Linked DNA regions of Homo sapiens: regions 1 and 3 are each linked to region 2. The links are contacts of gene promoters, found by promoter capture Hi-C in blood cells and fetal thymus (Javierre and others, 2016). All regions are on one chromosome and are shown on one strand. Each heading gives the region's core, a stretch centred on a gene start or on the middle of the fragment in contact. The rest is flanking DNA. Distances are from core to core; before and after follow the strand shown.

Region 1 (2,700 bases), core at 102-2,601, 1.3 Mb before region 2:
GTACAATACAAACATTACGAAAAAAGTTCAGTGGAATTCAAAAATAAGGAAACTAATATTACTTTGGGAAGATTTCATGAAGGAGGGCAGTTATTTTAAGAACGGTCAGGTTATAAAACCACGGCTGCTCGGCAACCTGGAGTTCCAACACACCCGACCTGATAGTTCCGGGTGAGAGGCCGCAGCTATCTGAGCTCTGAGCACCTGCACAACACGTTCTCAATCTCCCGCGGGACCGCTGCAGCGGTCCCCTATGAATGACTTTTAATTTTACCGCAGGCCGCAAAATAGGAATTACAGACCCCTGGCCTTAGGCCTTTCACAGCTATCTCCCAACACAATCAAAGGAGGTTCCAGTCTCAGTGACTCCTCTGGCCACGTGTAATAAGCACCTCCCTGCTCGGGCTGGATGCAGCAGCCAGGGCGTTATCTCCTAGTCTCTCTGACAACCCTCCTCTGGGGCGCAGCCCTCCACGTCCATCTCCCTCCCCTCAAACACTGAGAAGGTGACCGCGGAGTGGAGAGGCCTGGGGCTACGGACCCCTGCCACAGGAAGGACCCACCCCCATCTCCGGACAGGGCTACCTCAGCCCCAGCTCTGTCCGGGCCGAGGTTCTAGGAACCCTGAAACCCTGGCCCGGCCGCAGGTCTCCCAAGGCCGGCCTGCTTTTCTGGCCCTCACCAGTGCCAGTTGTTGACGTTGGTGGCGTCCGCCCGCTCCTCCACGATCCAGCGTGGGTCTCCCTCACCCCACTTGGCCATCGGCTCTCCTATCGCGGCGCCACCAGCTCCGGAGCAGCCGTAGCCACAGCCTCAGGACCGCTTAGTGCCAGCCGCCCGGCAGCGCCTGGAAACTACTAGAAGCGGCCGCAAGCACCTCCTGGCTTGCTTTTCCCTCCACCCCCTCCCCTCCTTAACTTCCGGCTCCTCCCCACTCCCACCGGTTACTTCCGTCCCAACTCGCCGCACCGTGGGTTCCGCCTGATTTAGAGATCCTTCAGACTCCATCGGGTTCTCCCCAAAAAGCGTCCCGAAACCCAACTGCTCATACAACCATTCCTCACCCATAGGAAAACAAAGAACACGTCTCATTGCTTCCCTGGACCCTAAATCGCCCTTGCTGAGCCTCATGGGAATTGTAGTCTTGCTACGTGACTCGCTGGATAACCGCGGAAGGTCTCGCGGAAAGGAGAGGAAATGACCTAGCACGGTGCTTGGGGTTTCTGGGGGCTGTAGTCAAGAAGCCTTGTGGTTCGTCGGGACAGCGCCTGACAGCAGAGGCAGAAGAAACTACGACTTCCAGCATGCCCTGCGGTCTCGTTATTCGTGTTTTCTCTCCGCCCTACGATTATTCCCTTCCGCCCCCTTCTCTAAGCTGCACAGCCTGAATAGAAGGGCTGGTCCAGCGGCGGCGGAGGCTGGCGCTGTCCTGAGAGGGAGGGCTCTGTGCGGAAGAGGTGAGGGTGTCCCAAGCCCCTTGGGTCGCGTATCTGGCTGGATCCAGCCTCTCCGCATCTTGATCTTTTCCCCTCTTCTAGGAGGCATCCCTACACCCTATGACTACAGGCCTGATTCTCTTCTTTCAGTCAGGGCGACCCTTGGGCGCTGGAGTACGCTTGGGACTGGGGCTGCGAGTGAGCACCAGCGATTGGTTCGGAAGCGGACATTTGGTTCAGAACGAGCATTTAACTCTGCCAGGGATCCGCTGGGCTCTGACGACTGCGGTAGATCCATGGCTTCCTGGACGTTCACCCGTAGAGTCATCCTAGCTTAACTCTTGTTCCCTGGTCTCAGTTCACAAGCCTCACCTGTATCTTCCTGGCTCGGAAGATAATTGAAACCAAGTCTGACTTCTCAGTAGGTGGTTTTTGGAGTTTTCTGAGGCAGGGAGCATGTTGTGGTTTTCTTGCTGATTCTTCTGTTTTCCTTTGTAAAGTTCCTGTTCTCCCCTGAGGTCTCTCACCCTGCCTTGTGGGCTGTCAGTAAACAAGAGACGATAAAGACAAACCTCTGAAGTATTTTAAATCATGTTGAAGCACCTGTCACTCTTAAGAGTGACAATCGTACCTGATTACTTTATAACTCTAGAGCCACTAGATCATTATCTATACTTGCCAAGTAAACCTAGCTTCTCATTTGGCGTTATAAATACAAATTGATGGCAGTTGTCTACTGCCATTGCATGGTTAAAAAGATTCCAGAAATCCTCTGGTAGATTATTGTGTTTGTTAGACACATTCTATGTCTATCTGTAGATAATTACTATAGTGAAGGAATGATCTCTAGTTTTCTGGAAAGTGAAAAATAGGTAGAAGGACCATGCAAGACACTAGAAATGGTCTAGGAGCCAGAAAGCCTGGATTGTAATTTGAAATAGGAGCATTTAACAAAGTGGCTTTGATACTGAACTCTTTTGTGCCTCACTTTCCCCATGAGTAACATGGAAATGGAATCTCCCAGGCCTACCTTACAAGATTGTTCTGAGGATCAAACGAATGACAGAGTGATTTATGAACTGACATGTGTGCCAGAGACATTTATATGTTCTATACACATCTTCAGCATTTGTGGCTACTCAGAATTTTTGTATTTTTTTTAATCTTTAGGATTGCTAAAAAATATTTTCTTTTTTAGCTTTTCCCAAGGTACCAGGATGATGTATTAATAATAAAAGTTACTATTGAGTGTTAATTTTGGGTC
Region 2 (2,700 bases), core at 96-2,595:
TGCACTTTGGGAAAAATTAACCAGGAAAATCTTTGACTTAGTAAGGGAGATCTCACCATTCTGACATGTTCTCATCAGAGCCCTGTTTTTGTTCATCTGTTTCACACTCCATCCTTTCTTTCCTTCCTGTTTTGCTTAGGAAAGTCCTATTTTCTGCTGATTCACACAATCCGTGGCCTGATGAGGTCCAGGGAGTATTCTCCTTCCAGCGGGACAGACGCTGCTTCTTAGCAGACTTGAACCTGCAGCCTCTCTCATAGCTCCAATCTGACACCTTCAGCTTCTGCTGAAGGCTAGCAGCCACCTCTGATGTCACTCGCTTCACCTTCCGCCTGCGCCTGAGTGGTCGACAAGGTGCATTTTCAGTAAAGGAGTCAGATTCATGCCAAGAATGTTGCTTACTCTTGACAATGGCATTGAGAGCTGGGTGTCGTTTGGCTACCATTGTGTCATCAGAGTCACTAAAATTGGTCACCGGAGCCACTTCTCGACAGTCCTTAGTGGCCTCATCCAGACTTGACTCAGAGGCCTCGCTGTAGCAGCAGGTATGCTCTGCCAGGTGAGTGAAGTCAGAACGACGCTTCCGACCTCGGCGTTTCCGAAGCTGCCGCCTCTGCTGTCGGGGGCTCAGCGCCATCTCCTCCCACAGTTCACCAAGCTTATTCTGCTCAGATGTCTGCTCCAAGGCTGAGGCTAAGTCGTGTACCAGCTCATCCATGAGGCCACATCTGCCAAAAGGAAGTTTAGGAAAAAAAGAAAGAAAGAAAAGAAAAAGAAAAAGAAAGCCTGAAAAAGGATCTGTTGTTTTGGAATAATTTGATGAAACAGATCATGGTAGTCCACAGTTCTGCCTGTCTAAACAAAATAAGTCACCTTTCATCTGGCTACACTTAGATTCTGTTCCTACCACTTCCTTAAGTCACTAAAAATAGATGTTTTGTCCCTTGTTAAATGCCTGAAGTCAACATATTCTTAAGCACAAAAACCTACTAACCAGAAGACAACTGGGACAGGACCCAAAACAAATTCGGGGGACTAGATCCTTCTCTCTTTTCCCCAATTAAACTTGTCATTGAATTACCTAATGATGAGATCCAGAAAGATTAGAGACTGTCTCACTAGACAGGAACAGAAAAACATACAACTTCAAAATCACACTAGAGTTGTGGAAACACAGAGTAGCACATGGTCTCATCGAGGTATTGAGAATGAATGAAAAACTGTTCTTTGGCCTGGGGTCACTGCTGACAATGACCATGGCAGAAAGAAACAGAAAGACAACTTAGTGACACCATTTAAGGAAGAATGCAGTTTTCGTGATCCAAGAAATTGTAGTGACCCAGGTTTGAAGTCAGAATGGAGAAGAGACTAAGTTTGCGCCCATTCTGGTACCAACTACCACCTGGAAGCTACCAGGTATAGAACCTTATACAGTATGTCATATATTTTTGAATAATTAACAATTTTTAAGCCCCTCTCCTACCCTCCAGAAAATAAATGTTGGTCCTAGTTATGTGCTTCAGTGCCACACAATCACAGAAAACTAGGATACAATAGCAGCTGAAATGACAGGGATAGGGTGAAGTTTCTAAGATTTCTGGCCAAACTGCTTTCCAAAATTTCTTATTTTTCTGTTCATCCTCAAACCAAACATCACACTTCAGGGGTCACTTCAGAGACAAACATTTCAAGAAATGACAGTAGTAGGAGCAATCTTCAAAATTCCCCCTTAAGGGGAAATATTTAATTTGTACAGCATCTAATTAAATACATATTAAATTTTTAGCACTTTTCTCTTGCCTCTATGCCCAAAGTATTTCAAGATCAGCTTAAAATTCTAAGTGGTGCCACTCTCTGACCATATTCCCATTCATTCAGTTTTCACTTTGCAAAGGGCTTTCTAAAACCTATTTTCATGCTGTGCCTATGCCAATGAACTTAAAGACAGGAAAACAGTCCTCTGGCTTATCTGCCACACCTGTAGGAGCAATAGTGACACCTACTTCCAAAACTACCATACAAACGAAGCTTCTCAAAGTGTCCAAAAGCACATACATTTAAACAAGACCAAGTTCTTTTAAGCATTAAGAAGTGGTTTATCAACACCTGTGAAAAGAAGGGGAAAAAATGGGAAAAAAAAAAGTGGATTAAAATGCCATGATTGAGGTTTGGGAGACAACTGTCCCTAAGACCAAAATAAAGAAACAAGTGGGAACAGCATGTCAAAATCTACTTCCCTAATAAAGAATTACTGCTTTAAAAACTCAGGCAACAAAAATACAAAAAACAAAAACAAAAGAACAAATAAAAACCTCAGGCAGAACAGCACAAACTTGAACATGGAACGAAGTCATCAAACAACTTGCAGTCGAATGCCTGTGCAGAATCCTTTCCTGCCTCAAAGCCTGTAATTCCAACAGTAGTGACAAAAGAACCCTAGAACTCCCCATCTCCAGTCGCGGATGCACACTCTCGAGAGGACCCGGCGGCCAGGCACGCACCCGGGCAGAGATGAGGCTGAGTCACGCACAGGAAGGAACGGGTAGCTGGTGGACAGCAAGTAAGAAGAGAGACAGGAGCAGGGTGGAAGTGAGGGGCGGAGTAGGAGGTGGGAGAGGCAGGAGGCAACTGCTCATTTGGGCTCACGAGGGGCGGGGATCGGCTCTTCTAGGGCAGAAACTGCCAAAATGCAAGTCTTGG
Region 3 (2,700 bases), core at 163-2,662, 1.5 Mb before region 2:
ACTCAAATAGGATGTGTGGGATGAATGATCCCACCTTCTGTTAGATTATTCAGCTCCTAAGTCATGCAAAACCAATACCTTGTGGACCTCCTTTCTAAAGCTCCTGCAGGGTGGGGAAAGAATGCACGGATTCTCATAGGTGCATTTAGCAATTACTAGTAACCAACACTTAATGAATGCTTACTAATTGCTAGGTCCTGTACAAAATACATTACATACATAAACTTATTCAATCTTCACGACAACTATTATTGTCCCCACTGAACAGATGAAGACACATAGAGGTCACTCAGCTAGTAAGTGGCGCAGCTAGGATTTAAAACCCAGACCGACTCCAGAGTCCATACTCTCAATTATGATACTAAATTCTTTATGGATAACAGAAAGTCTCTAATTGTAATGTAGATCAATTTCCTTGCTTTCTAACCCCATGGGAAGATGGAACTAAAAGGGTGAGAAAATAATATTTATTATACTCCTACTATAAGCCTAGTATTATAAGAGGTGCATAATGGGTTAATGATATAATTCTTGCTGTAAGTCTATGAAGCAGGAAGTATTAACTCCATTTTAAAGAATTTGGCTTCTAAAGTGGTTAAACACAGTGCTCAAGTTTTAGCTTCCAGTTATTGGCAGAGTTGGAATTAGACCAGGTTTTCTAACTTTGAAGGAAAGACTTAATTTAAAGGAGACTGTATAGAAAACCCTGCCAAGGGCAAATGTGAAGGGCACGTGAAAAGGCATCTGAATTATTACTTATAATAATTCAGAAATAGTGAATGTGTGGCGCATATTGAAGAATGATGAGAGATTGTCAAAAAATCTATTCTATAAACACTCACAGAGGAATCAGCTAATTAAATAAGCGAGCTGCCTGTCTTGGGCTAGGACATAAACTCCAAAACTTCCCACGAGGCAAGGGCAAAGAGGGCGCCACCTGTCCTGGAGAACCTGGGAACCCGCTCTAGAGACTTCGGCTCAGCCCCTTTTATTTCCTCACACTCTAATTGGCTACTTTTCCCTGGGCTCCGCCTCCTCCTCGGTCTGGACCATTAAACAGGCAAGCCCTACCCCGGACCTGGATGCGGCCTCCAATCAGGTGCCAGGCCCTGGAGTCCCTCTAGAGAAGCCCCCTCTCCACCGGCGAGGCGCTTTGCTCTCGTCCGTGATTGGCCAGGCAGCAGCATGGGGTCCGCCTCCTTCTCTTCCAGATTGGTCAGCGGTCCTCAGGACCACATCCCTCTCGGCAGGTCCCCGCCGCTTTTTCCCTTCGCTGCGTGGCCTTGGCCGAGACCGGTCCTCTGCGGAGAGGGCCCCGCCCTCTGTGAAGGCCCGCCCGGGAATTGGCGGCGGCGCTGCAGCCATTTCCGGTTTCGGGGAGGTGGGTGGGGTGCGGAGCGGGACTTGGAGCAGCCGCCGCCGCTGCCACCGCCTACAGAGCCTGCCTTGCGCCTGGTGCTGCCAGGAAGATGCGGCCGGAGCCCGGAGGCTGCTGCTGCCGCCGCACGGTGCGGGCGAATGGCTGCGTGGCGAACGGGGAAGTACGGAACGGGTACGTGAGGAGCAGCGCTGCAGCCGCAGCCGCAGCCGCCGCCGGCCAGGTACGAGGGGCCCGCGCGGCGGGGCCGGGGTGGCGGTGTGGACTGGCGGAGGGGCGGCCGGGCGGGGCGAGGTCTCCGGGCCATCCGCTGGGCAATCCGCGGGGCGGGCGCCGTTCGCAGGTGTGGGCGGCAGTGTCCGGCCGCTGGCCCGACCTCCACGAGCCTGGAGGCTCAAGGACGGCTCGGGGGCTCCCCACCTCTCCGCGCCTGGAGGTCTTACTCCCGGAGCTCTGGGTTCTGCTCAGAGCTCCGGGTACTTTTCTCTGCCCCATTCTGCCAGAAGTGTGTGCTGTCCCCAGGGGAAGCGATGAGGGGCCCTTCGGACTCCAGTGGGAGCCGCCCAAGGGCTCCGGAGGGTCCCTTCTCAAACCCCTGAGGTTATTGCTTCCTTTTAAAGTCCTGCAGTCGTCCAAAGAAAACCACCCATGGGGTCCTTAAGAAGCAAAGAAAATTAGGCGGTGGTGTCAGATGGAAACACACCCAGCCTCTCCCAACCACATTCTGGACTACCACGTTCAGTCCCCAACCAGGACATTGGTCCATAGATCTGGCAGGGAATCCAAGCTGGTCCCTCGAAAGCATCATTCTCTTAACTCTGCCGGTGGTGAGACTCTACCCCAGGCTCCAGGTTGGATTAGGTGGCCCCTTCGACCCTTTCCTGAACACGAGTGCTATCACACAAGGGGATTGTTTAGCCTGGTGGTGACTTGCGATGACTCTATACTAATTAACCATGCTGAATCATCAACCAAGTTCAGGCAGTTCTAAAATATTTTGAAAAGTTCTAAATTCAAGACAATGCTTATTATCAACCTTACAGTGGTCTGGACTGACAGATATTCTGTTGAAATGTGTTTTTAAAGATGAGCTGGTTAAAAAGATGCAAGATCGGTGTTCCTGGAAGAGAGTGTTGCGATAATTTTGCAGTTGACTTTAATACGTTTAAGTCTTGTACAGATATTAAGGAACGCTTAGAAAGTACTCTGTTTCCCTTTAGCGGGAGTGTGACTGTTGCAGTTTGATAGGATGGTGATCTTAATTTGGCTTTAACATAACTACTCCCCAGATGAGTAGTTATGATGGATAGGTCTGTTACTGT

Evidence for each region. Contacts are between HindIII fragments. The CHiCAGO score rates a contact against its expected background, and 5 or more counts as called.
Region 1: a contact is called between the fragment with the promoter of VIPAS39 here and a fragment that was not itself captured in region 2, in 1 of 17 cell types (non-activated CD4 T cells). The highest score is 6.7, in non-activated CD4 T cells.
Region 3: the fragment with the promoter of SPTLC2 here is called in contact with a fragment that was not itself captured in region 2 in 4 of 17 cell types (non-activated CD4 T cells, total CD4 T cells, neutrophils and 1 more); the score reaches 7.0 in non-activated CD4 T cells.

Annotation. Positions count from the first base shown.
Region 1 is chr14:77,456,252-77,458,951 of GRCh38, reverse strand. VIPAS39 (VPS33B interacting protein, apical-basolateral polarity regulator, spe-39 homolog) reads left to right here and starts at 1,351. Exons shown (of 20, transcript NM_001193315.2): 1 at 1,351-1,457. It overlaps AHSA1 (activator of HSP90 ATPase activity 1), which reads right to left and starts at 859. Exons shown (of 9, transcript NM_012111.3): 1 at 683-859. The coding sequence starts at 762. RefSeq lists enhancers at 603-782, 508-1,030, 953-1,412, 1,031-1,553. The HindIII fragment of the contact is 4,049 bases long and covers 1-2,700 here.
Region 2 is chr14:76,152,382-76,155,081 of GRCh38, reverse strand. GPATCH2L (G-patch domain containing 2 like) reads right to left here. Exons shown (of 10, transcript NM_017926.4): 2 at 57-728. The coding sequence starts at 718. Among named protein-coding and RNA genes, the nearest start is that of GPATCH2L, 1.8 kb to the right of the region's middle. The HindIII fragment of the contact is 1,370 bases long and covers 661-2,030 here.
Region 3 is chr14:77,615,349-77,618,048 of GRCh38, reverse strand. SPTLC2 (serine palmitoyltransferase long chain base subunit 2) reads left to right here and starts at 1,412. Exons shown (of 12, transcript NM_004863.4): 1 at 1,412-1,601. The coding sequence starts at 1,470. RefSeq lists silencers at 986-1,045, 1,376-1,425, 1,566-1,765 and enhancers at 1,085-1,617, 1,946-2,155. The HindIII fragment of the contact is 6,254 bases long and covers 1-2,700 here.